3 separate regions of the Homo sapiens genome follow, and all the other regions are linked to region 2. Evidence: promoter capture Hi-C in human tissues and cell types (Jung and others, 2019). All regions are on one chromosome and are shown on one strand. Each heading gives the region's core, a stretch centred on a gene start or on the middle of the fragment in contact. The rest is flanking DNA. Distances are from core to core; before and after follow the strand shown.

What was found. The method cuts DNA at HindIII sites, captures the fragments that hold promoters and counts their contacts. A contact is called where the count stands out against the background at its distance.
Region 1: a contact is called between a fragment that was not itself captured here and the fragment with the promoter of RAP1GAP in region 2, in 1 of the 25 tissues and cell types used here (IMR-90 fibroblasts).
Region 3: a fragment that was not itself captured here is called in contact with the fragment with the promoter of RAP1GAP in region 2 in 3 of the 25 tissues and cell types used here (H1 embryonic stem cells, mesenchymal stem cells and mesendoderm cells).

Annotation. Positions count from the first base shown.
Region 1 is chr1:21,496,653-21,499,410 of GRCh38, forward strand. No RefSeq gene overlaps it. Among named protein-coding and RNA genes, the nearest start is that of ALPL, 11 kb to the right of the region's middle. The HindIII fragment of the contact is 4,936 bases long and covers 1-2,758 here.
Region 2 is chr1:21,667,890-21,670,841 of GRCh38, forward strand. RAP1GAP (RAP1 GTPase activating protein) reads right to left here and starts at 1,468. Exons shown (of 25, transcript NM_002885.4): 1 at 1,365-1,468. RefSeq lists a silencer at 1,390-1,539 and an enhancer at 2,188-2,952. The HindIII fragment of the contact is 12,626 bases long and covers 1-2,952 here.
Region 3 is chr1:21,851,360-21,854,511 of GRCh38, forward strand. It overlaps HSPG2 (heparan sulfate proteoglycan 2), which reads right to left. Exons shown (of 97, transcript NM_005529.7): 50 at 2,834-2,984; 51 at 1,560-1,711; 52 at 1,341-1,473; 53 at 729-874; 54 at 432-567; 55 at 187-338. Among named protein-coding and RNA genes, the nearest start is that of LDLRAD2, 41 kb to the left of the region's middle. RefSeq lists an enhancer at 557-1,756. The HindIII fragment of the contact is 5,961 bases long and covers 1-3,152 here.

The sequences.
Region 1 (2,758 bases), core at 212-2,711, 170 kb before region 2:
TACAGGAGCTGACAACTACATCTGAATTCATCTTCTTCTTCTTATAAAGACATCAGTTCCACTTGTATGATAACTCATTAATCCATAAATGGATTAATCTGTTCACGAGAGCAGAGCGAGCCCCTTATGAGCACTTCTTAAAGGCACCACCCCTCAATACTGCCACATGCAGGATTGTCAACCTTAATCTTGGAGGGGACATTCAAACCGGAGCAGCGTGTGTCCTCTTAGTTGTAGAACCAAGGAGCAAAAGTAGTTTGTGGCAGAGGGAAGTAGGATAACTGAATTTCATCATCTGGGGGCGGGGGATTGGGGGTGTCTCATCCCATTCACAGGCCAGTCCCCTCTTCTTTGGGAGCTGCCATGTTGGCACTGCATGATCCCGCCCCTATCCATGGTTGATTGGACCAGGAGTGGACCAAGCTGGGCCAATCCAATGTCTTTGGGAGCTGCCATGTTGGCATCGCATGATTCAGCCCCCATCTGTGGTTGATTGGACCAGGAGAGGACCCAGCTGGGCCAATCCAATTGTCTCTCCTGGGCACTGGGATTGCAATGCACTTGCTTGGGGAGCCCTGGGGAGGCAAGGTCCTGCTGCAACAACAAGGAGGAGGAGAAAATGGGTCTACAAGCACAGACGAACAAAGCAGGCACAGAGAGAAGAAACTCAGAGATAGGAAATGGGTTGGACTGGTAACTGATCAAATCTCTGCTTCCAGTCTCTTCTGGAGTATTGGCTGCCTTCCTGCCCTTGGCTGTCATGGACGAACCCCCCTTTTAATAAACTATTCTCTTTGGTTATGCCAGTGGAGAGGTTTTCCATTACCTGCAACTAAATTTTTCATTAATATAGATATCCAATAAAATAATGCTCATAAGAGCAGGTATATCTCTTCCAAGGGACTTACAGGTATTATTTTACATAAACTTCCCAACAACCCTCTGTGGAAGTTGTTAACATTCCCATTTCACAGATGAAGAACTGAGGCACGGAGAGCCTCACTTGCTCAAGGTCAAGCAGCTACTGGAGCCAGATTTGAGCCCAGGTAGTCTGACTTCAGAGCCTGGGCCACAGTCCATCACTATAGACCTTTTCATTTGCAACTGCTAGGAGATGAGGGCTCAGGCCTTCGGAGCCCACCCCATCACGCGCTCACTCTAGCCCTGCAAGCACACAGAAAACTGGAGGAGTTGAAATCTGAGGAGGGATGTTTGCCCTCTGTCCCCCGCTGCCCTAACCACTCCCGCCCCCTGGAGGTATGTGAAGAGTCCAGAATCCCTGGGATTCCTGACACTGCACTTTGAGGTGATAAACATTAAACCCACTAGTCTTCCTTACTCTGAGTGCCCAGAAACACCTGGGACCACGTAGAAGGAGGCTGTCAAGGAGACTGGACTGTCCTGGAGGTGTGCCACACAGTCACTCTCACCTTCCAGAAGGGCTTGTGGGCATGCCCTCTCTCTCCCCTGACAGAGACTGTGAGGCCCCGTGGTTAGGGGGCCTAGGCTGGGAGCCACATGCTGGGTGCCTGATCTTGGTTTAGCCTCCAAGCCTCCGTTTTCATTCTCTGTTGAATGGGGATCATAATAACCCCTACCCAGAGGAGTAAATGAGATAATGCATCCAAAGGGCTTAAAAACTTGGACAGGATTAGGAAAATGTTGGCGTATGATGGGAGAAAAGCAGGGACTCTCAATATGTATCATCCTACGCGCCTATCCTTTTAAAGTTTTTTTAAAAATTAGATTTGGAAAGATAAAAACCAAGGTGTTAAATGGGATATCTCTGTGTGATAAGATTACCAGGCATTTTAGTTTACTTGACTTTTTGCATTTACACTTCCTAGCATGAACCTAGATGATTTATATATTTTAAAACATATTGGACTTTACACATATACAATATTTTTATTATTATTTACTTCAAGTGCTTGCCTAAATCCTAAAGCTATTGTGTGTGGGACACTTGTGAGTTGCCTCTCCAGCACCCACTCCCCTCTTCTCTTTTCAGGGCAGATTGGGTGGGTTGAACTCCACTCCATCTCCAAGGGTGGGCCTGGATTGGCTTAAATCAATCACTGTTGTGACAGGCTTAGGGAGCTCATCGTGGAGGCTGGGTCCAGGAGATGCAATTCCAAGACTTGTGTTTGTTTGGGGAAATAGATTTTCTTTCTTTCTTTTCTTTCTTTTTTTCTTCTTCTTTTTTTTTTTTAATATATTAACAGTGACTTCCATATATCACCTGGGAACCTCTGCTTGGGTGAGAATGGGCCCAAGAGGGAGGAAGAGGAGCTGAGAATGGAAAGACAGAAAAGCAAGGTCCTGATTATATCACTGAACCACTGGGAAGACGCTCTGGATGTAGACTTTTTTTTTTTTTTTTTTTTTTGAGACAGGATCTCACTCTGTCATCCAGGCTGGAATGCAGTGGTGTGATCACTACCCGCTGCAGCCTCGACACCCCCATACCCCCTCCACCACCAGCTCAAGCCATCCTCCCACCTCAGCCTCCAAAGTAGCTGGGACTACAGGTACGTGCCATAATGCTCAACTACTTTTTGTGGGGTTTTGTTATTGTTGTTGTAGTGTTTGTTTTTTTGTAGAGATGGGATTTTGCCACATTGCCCAGGCTGGTCTCCAAGTCCTGGGCTCAAGCCATCCTCCTGCCTTGGCCTCCCAAAGTGCTAGGATTACAGGCATGAGCCATCGTGCCCTGCCTCTGGTTATAGACTTTTCATTTTAGTGAGCCCATACATTC
Region 2 (2,952 bases), core at 218-2,717:
CATCAAGGAACACGCACCCCTTACCAGACCTTCCAGCTGCTGGGGGCTCTCAGAGTGAGGCTGAGGTCATGGAGAAGGGAATGGGGGGCCCCCATGGCCAGCTGGACCTGATCACTGCCTCCCCACTCAGCCACAGCCCTCAGGGCCCTGTGCCAGTCCAGAAGCCCATTCAGGGACACCTTTGGCCAATGTTCTGTTTCATCTGCGAGGCAACCTTCCCCAGTGCCCCAACCATAGCGTTTTCCCCCAAACACCCTCAGGAAGGAGGGACCACTACCTGTGCAGGGGGGGCCAGGAGCCTCCTGAGAGCCTCATATGGGGAGGAAGTGGTACCATCTCACCCCCATTGCCTTTCTCTCCTACTTCCACCTGGCCAGCTTCCCTCAGTGCCCCTCCTGCCTCAGTGCCCCTTCCCTCAGTGTCCTTCCTGCCTGCCGCCCCAGGGGCCTGACCTCTGACTTGGCAGGGAGGGGAATGGAGCCCGGGGACAGAGGCCAATGAGCCCTGAGAACAGTGGATGTTCTTCCTGACCCCACCACCGGGCCTGTGCTATGACCCCAACAAGGACTCCGAGGGCATGCACAGGCTGGGGTCTGTTATGGTAGGGAGGGGGCCGCTCACCTCCGGAGACTGTGTGTGTGTGCAGGTGTGCGTACACAAGGTTTCTTCCCCAAGCCCAGGCGCCCCGCAGCTGGCACCAAACCCTGCAGGGCACGGAAACCGCCCCGTGAATTCCCACCGAGTCCTCAGATCCTGCCGAGCCAGGGGAGGCGACGAGGGGGCGCCCAACTTCGTGACGCGTGTGCCCCGCTCTGCCGCGGGGGTCAGGGACAGGGGAATGCGTCCTGTCTCTGGGGATGCAAGGACATCACCGCCCTCCCCGCTCAGGGTCCTTGATCTGAGGCCCCCACTTCCCTCCTCTGAGGACAGGAGCGCCACCCTCTGGGGGGCGCTAGGGCTTGGGCCCCTCCCCAGGGATGGAGGAAACGCGCCCACTTCCCACAGTCCCTCCTCTAAACCCCAGGCGCCCCCACCTCGAGGTGGGCGGAAAACTGGACTCCCCACCCACCCAGGGGGGTGGGACCAAAGCCCCCTGGCCGCGGCCTGGACCAAGTCCAACAGGCTGGGGGTTCAGCCGGCTCAGTCCAGGCCTCCCCCCACTTCTCCAGCTGCTGTCAAGACCGGGCTGCGCGAGCCCAGCTGCGCCCACCCCTCGCCCCTGGAGACCCGGGTCCCCCACGCGTTCGCCCCCACCCTCCGTCCCCGCCCGCCCGCGCGGGGTCTTCGCTGCGAGCCGACGGGAGTCTGGACACCTCTGTCCCCTTCCCCTTTCCAGGGCCGCAGCCCTGGCGGGGCGCACTCACCCAAGGGCCTGGGCCGGGGGCGTCCTGGGCTCGGCACTCTGGTGCCCGCGGCCGCCGCTGCAGCTCTGCTCAGATGCGGCCGGCGCTCGCCGCCGCCGCAGTTCGGGGAGGGGGACGTCACATGACCGCGGAGCGCTCCTTCCCCGGCGCCGCTCCCCACTCACTGCGGAGCCCAAGCCGCGGGCGCGGGAGCGGCGGGGAGGCCCCCGCCCTGCCGCCCCGCCCCGCCGCAGGTCCTGGAGGAGGGTTCTCGGTGCCCCCATTTTACAGGTGGGGAAACTGAGGACCAGAGAGGGGCAGGGACTGGCTCAAGGTTACACAGCTAGACAGTGGCAGAACCTGGGCGACAGCCCAGCTGTCCAGGCAACAGCTCATGCTCCAAGGGGACTGGGACAACTTCTGGATCAAGTGGAGACGTCGGGATAGGTGGGGCCCACGGCCCCCATGGGCTCCGCTTGTCTGCAGGCGCGGGAGGAAGGCGCACAGGCTTCGCTGGGCGAGAAAGCTGCTGTGCCCTGGCTGACGCCCTCCTCACCCGGGCGCTCGGCGCGCTTCCTGGCAGAGGCCACGCGGTTGACCCTCGCCAGCCCATTCGCGGCTCTTGGACTTTGTCTCTGGACTGGGCAGCTCGCCCCCGCCCCAGCCTAACCCGGGCCCAGGGCGGGTGTGGGGAGGGGAGCCACAGGCTACGGAGAAGTGGAAGGGAGGCACCCGGAAGAGAGTGGGATCAGAACAAGAGTGAAAACCCAGGCAGGGAGGGGGCGGCAGAGATCACCTCGGCCTGACTTCCAAGGCCCAGGGAGAGTTAGAGACTTGCCCAAGGTCCACAGCAAGTGAGCGGCCTGCCCACTCGAGTCCCTTCTTTGATGGTCAACAGAGCCTGAGGCTCCTGTGCCCCACTCCCCACCAAGGGGGAGCCCTCACCCACACCTCTTTCTGTTCTCCACTGAGCTCCCTCCCCGGGGAACAGCCCACATGAAGCAAAGAAACACGCAGTGGGTCGGCAAGGCCAGAACTGGGGACAACGGGTGAGGGGTATGGTTGGTGGCTCCAAGGTCATGAACTCGTCACAGAACACTCGTGTTCCAGGGGGATCTCTGAAATCTCTGGATCTCACCCCAATGTTCTAAGAACTGGGAAAACAGGCTGCAAAAGGTACAAAGACAGACCTCTTTCTCAACCATTTCGAATTGGTGGGTCAAGCCGACAGGGCCCTCCAAGGTCAACAAGTCCAATAGGCCCACTTGACAGATAATATTTAGGGAGGGGAAAGTCCAAGACATGTACTCAATATATTTCTTGAGCATCTACTGTGTGCTTAAAACCACAACTGTTACTTCCAGCTCCCACTATTTTCCCGGCCACATGGGCTGCATTTCACAAAAGGAAAGATCCGAGGTCTTCAGCAACTCTTACATCAGCCTCTGGAGGATCTGAGACATGCAAGCCTCCGGGTTTTCAGTCCCATAGGGGCTGGGGACCAGAGCCATGTTTTCCGGTCAAGACTCTAATCCCCGTGGAGAAAAGGTGAATAAGGGGGAATAGCAGGAAATGCCCCACCCTCTTCCCACGCATCCACCCACCTGTG
Region 3 (3,152 bases), core at 537-3,036, 180 kb after region 2:
TGGAGCCAGAATTCACACCCAGGTTAGTCAGTCCTAGATTCTGGTTTCTAACCACTGCACTATACATCTGTGCAATGGGGTCCAGGGCTTCCTGATCTCAGGGGAGCCTCTAGCCCTCCCCCAATAACCTCCGCCACCCAGGGACCCGCTTCCTCTTCTTGGCCTGTCTGTCCTCCAGTCCCATACCTGGTGCCGGACAGGGAGGCTGCCCCCACGCTTGTGCCACGTGACCTGGGCATGGGACTGCCCGGGCACCACGCAGTTCAGATCCAGGGTCTGCCCTTCCGCCACTTGCGAGGAGGAGGGCTCGATGCGGATGGGCTGGGTGCTGCCGGCAGCTGAGGGATAAGATGGTCACCGGTCACTCCTGTTCTCTGAAGCCACTCCAGCCTGTTCTCTGCATCCCAGCCCAGCCTGGTGGCCCCACTCACGGTAGGCTAAGTTGGCCCCCTGGGTCCCAGTTACTGTGACCGTGATGGAGGCCTCCATGCCGTTGCTGGCCCGGCAGACGTACTGTCCCGCATCGGCAGGTGAGGCCTGGAAGATGTACAGGCGGGAGCCACGAACCTGGGCAGCCGTGGGCAGAGGTGTGAGGGGGGCTTCCCGGAGGCCAGCAAATGCCCCACCGCTGTCCCCCCGATCTAGGAAGTGCCAGCCCCTCAGCCTAGGGGCCAGGATCCTGCAACCCACTGTCCATGGCCCCGTCCCACATTCTTGGTGCCCTGTACCTGGTGCCGGGCAGGGAGGCTGCCCCCACGCTTGTACCATGTGACCTGGGCGTGGGCCTGCCCTGCCACCACGCAGCTCAGATCCAGGGTCTGGCCCTCGGCCACTGTGGAGGATGAAGACTCGATCCTGACAGGTGGGATGGGTCCTGCAGCAGTGGGGATGGGAGTGAGAGTTGTAGATGCTCCTGAGATGAGAGGGCAGGGGTTGCCCACCCTGCAGCTAGCTCAGCCCAGGGTTTCAAGGCCAGATCCAGCTTTTCAGGCATCTGGGGGCCTGGACTTGATGCCCTCAGCTCAGCAACCCTGATGGGAGGACCAGGGCATGGGCCACGCCTTGCAGAGGGGAGTGAGGAAGTGAGAGAGATGAGGGCAGAGATGAGTTGGAGAGAGGAAGAGGAGGTGGGAGGGGACGCCTGAGGAGTCATGTGGCCAAAGCAAAGTGTGACGGGAAGGCGGTGGTTACTCTGACAGGTGGAGTCGGCCTGGGCAGGGCCCTGCAGCCAGCTCCGGTGTGGGCCTTCTGCCCTGTCAGCAAGAGGGGTCCCTTGGATCTCACCACCCCGGAGGCCTCTCTGCCTCCTCCAGCTTTCCATGTCACTGGGAGTCACTCACCAGGGATGACAGAGGCTTCGATGGTGACCAGGACTGAGGCCTCTAGGGGGCCGGAGGTGCCCACCACATGGCACACATACTCGCCTGAGTCGGCCGGGGTCACCTGGTGCAGCCGCAGCAGCGAGCCGTGGGTCTGTGTGCAAATGGGGTGGGTTGGGAGGGGGCTGGAACAGTCCCATCCAGCCCCTCCAGCAAGGTGGTCCCGGGGGGCTGCCATACCTGGTGCCGGGCAGGGAGGCTGCCCCCACGCTTGTGCCACGTGACCTGGGCGTGGGCCTGCCCGGGCACCACGCAGTTCAGATCCAGGGTCTGCCCTTCCGCCACGTGTGAGGAGGAGGGCTCGATGCGGATGGGCCGGGTGCTGCCGGGCACTGGACACAGAGCGGCTGCTCAGAGGCCTGAACTCTTGGGCTGTAACCTGTAGCCCTGGGGCAGAAGGCTCTGGGCTGTGACCAGGCCCTAGTGGGGACGGCCGACAGGTGGCCTTTCTGGGACTAGGGCCACACCCTTCTGCCTCCACATGGCCAGCCGAATATGGCTTCTTCCCTCCCCAGCCTCTAACCACAAGCTGGAGGCCCATTGACCCACCCATGACTTCTTGATGATGAGCTCCTCTGGCCCATAGGGAACCAGCAAGCTTTACTACCCAGGCTGCGCCCAAGGATGCGGATGACAGTGAGACACCTCCCTTCTACAGGACGTCTTCCGTGTGCTCACAAGTACTTTCCATAGACACTGTCTCATTTAAACCACACCATGACTGGCCAGGCGCGGTGGCTCATGCCTATAATCCCAGCACTTTGGGAGGCTGAGACGGTCGGATCACGAGGTCAGGAGATCGAGACCATCCTGGCTAACACGGTGAAACCCCGTCTCTACTAAAAAAAATACAAAAAATTAGCCGGCCTGGTGGCGGGTGTGCCTGTAGTCCTAGCTACTCAGAAGGCTGAGGCAGGAGAATGGTGTGAACCCGGAAGGCGGAGCTTGCAGTGAGCCGAGATCACGCGCCACTGCACTCCAGCCTGGGTGACAGAGCGAGACTCTCTCTCAAAAAAATAAAATAAAATAAAATAAAATAAAATAAAATAAAATAAAATAATAAAAAAACCACACCATGACCAAGCAGGTGGGCAGTACTGCTCCATTTCATAGATGAATCTGAGGCCCCAAAAGTTAAAAGCTAGTTCAAGGTTGCTAAGGGGCAGATCTGGGATTTGAACCAGGTCAGCCGACTCCCAGCTTAGTATTCAACCTGGACATTCTGCTGCTTCCTGACAAATTCTGAAACAGTCACTCATAGGGAGCCCAGGTAAGCTGGACCAGCCTTAACCTCCCTCCCGTCCACTCAACCTCCTTCTCTCTCTGAGCAGGCGCTGAAGGGTCAAAGCCTGCCTGGAATGCCCCCCTGTCCTGGTCCCACTGAAGAAGCCACAGGCATCTTCCTTGGGAGCTCCTAGGGCTCAGCCCCGGCCCAGCCACACCTGGCTCCTCACCTGGGGTGTAGCTGGGGCCAGAATGGGTGCCGTGGAGCACAGACACAGTAATGGAGGCCTCCTTGGGGCCCGATCCATTCTCCACACGGCACACATATTCTCCAGAATCAGCTGGTGAGACCTGGGGGAGCCGCAGACGGGAGCCGTGCACCTGGGCCAGGAGGAGCCAGAGGTACGTGAGGACAGGGACGGGGGCTATTGTCACCACTCCCTCAGCCTCAGTGATTCATTCAAACTCTCACTGGCTCTGCTCCGAGCCATCCCATGCTAGAAACTGGGAGGGAGGGAGATGAGGCCTGGCTTCTGCTGGTGGAACGTG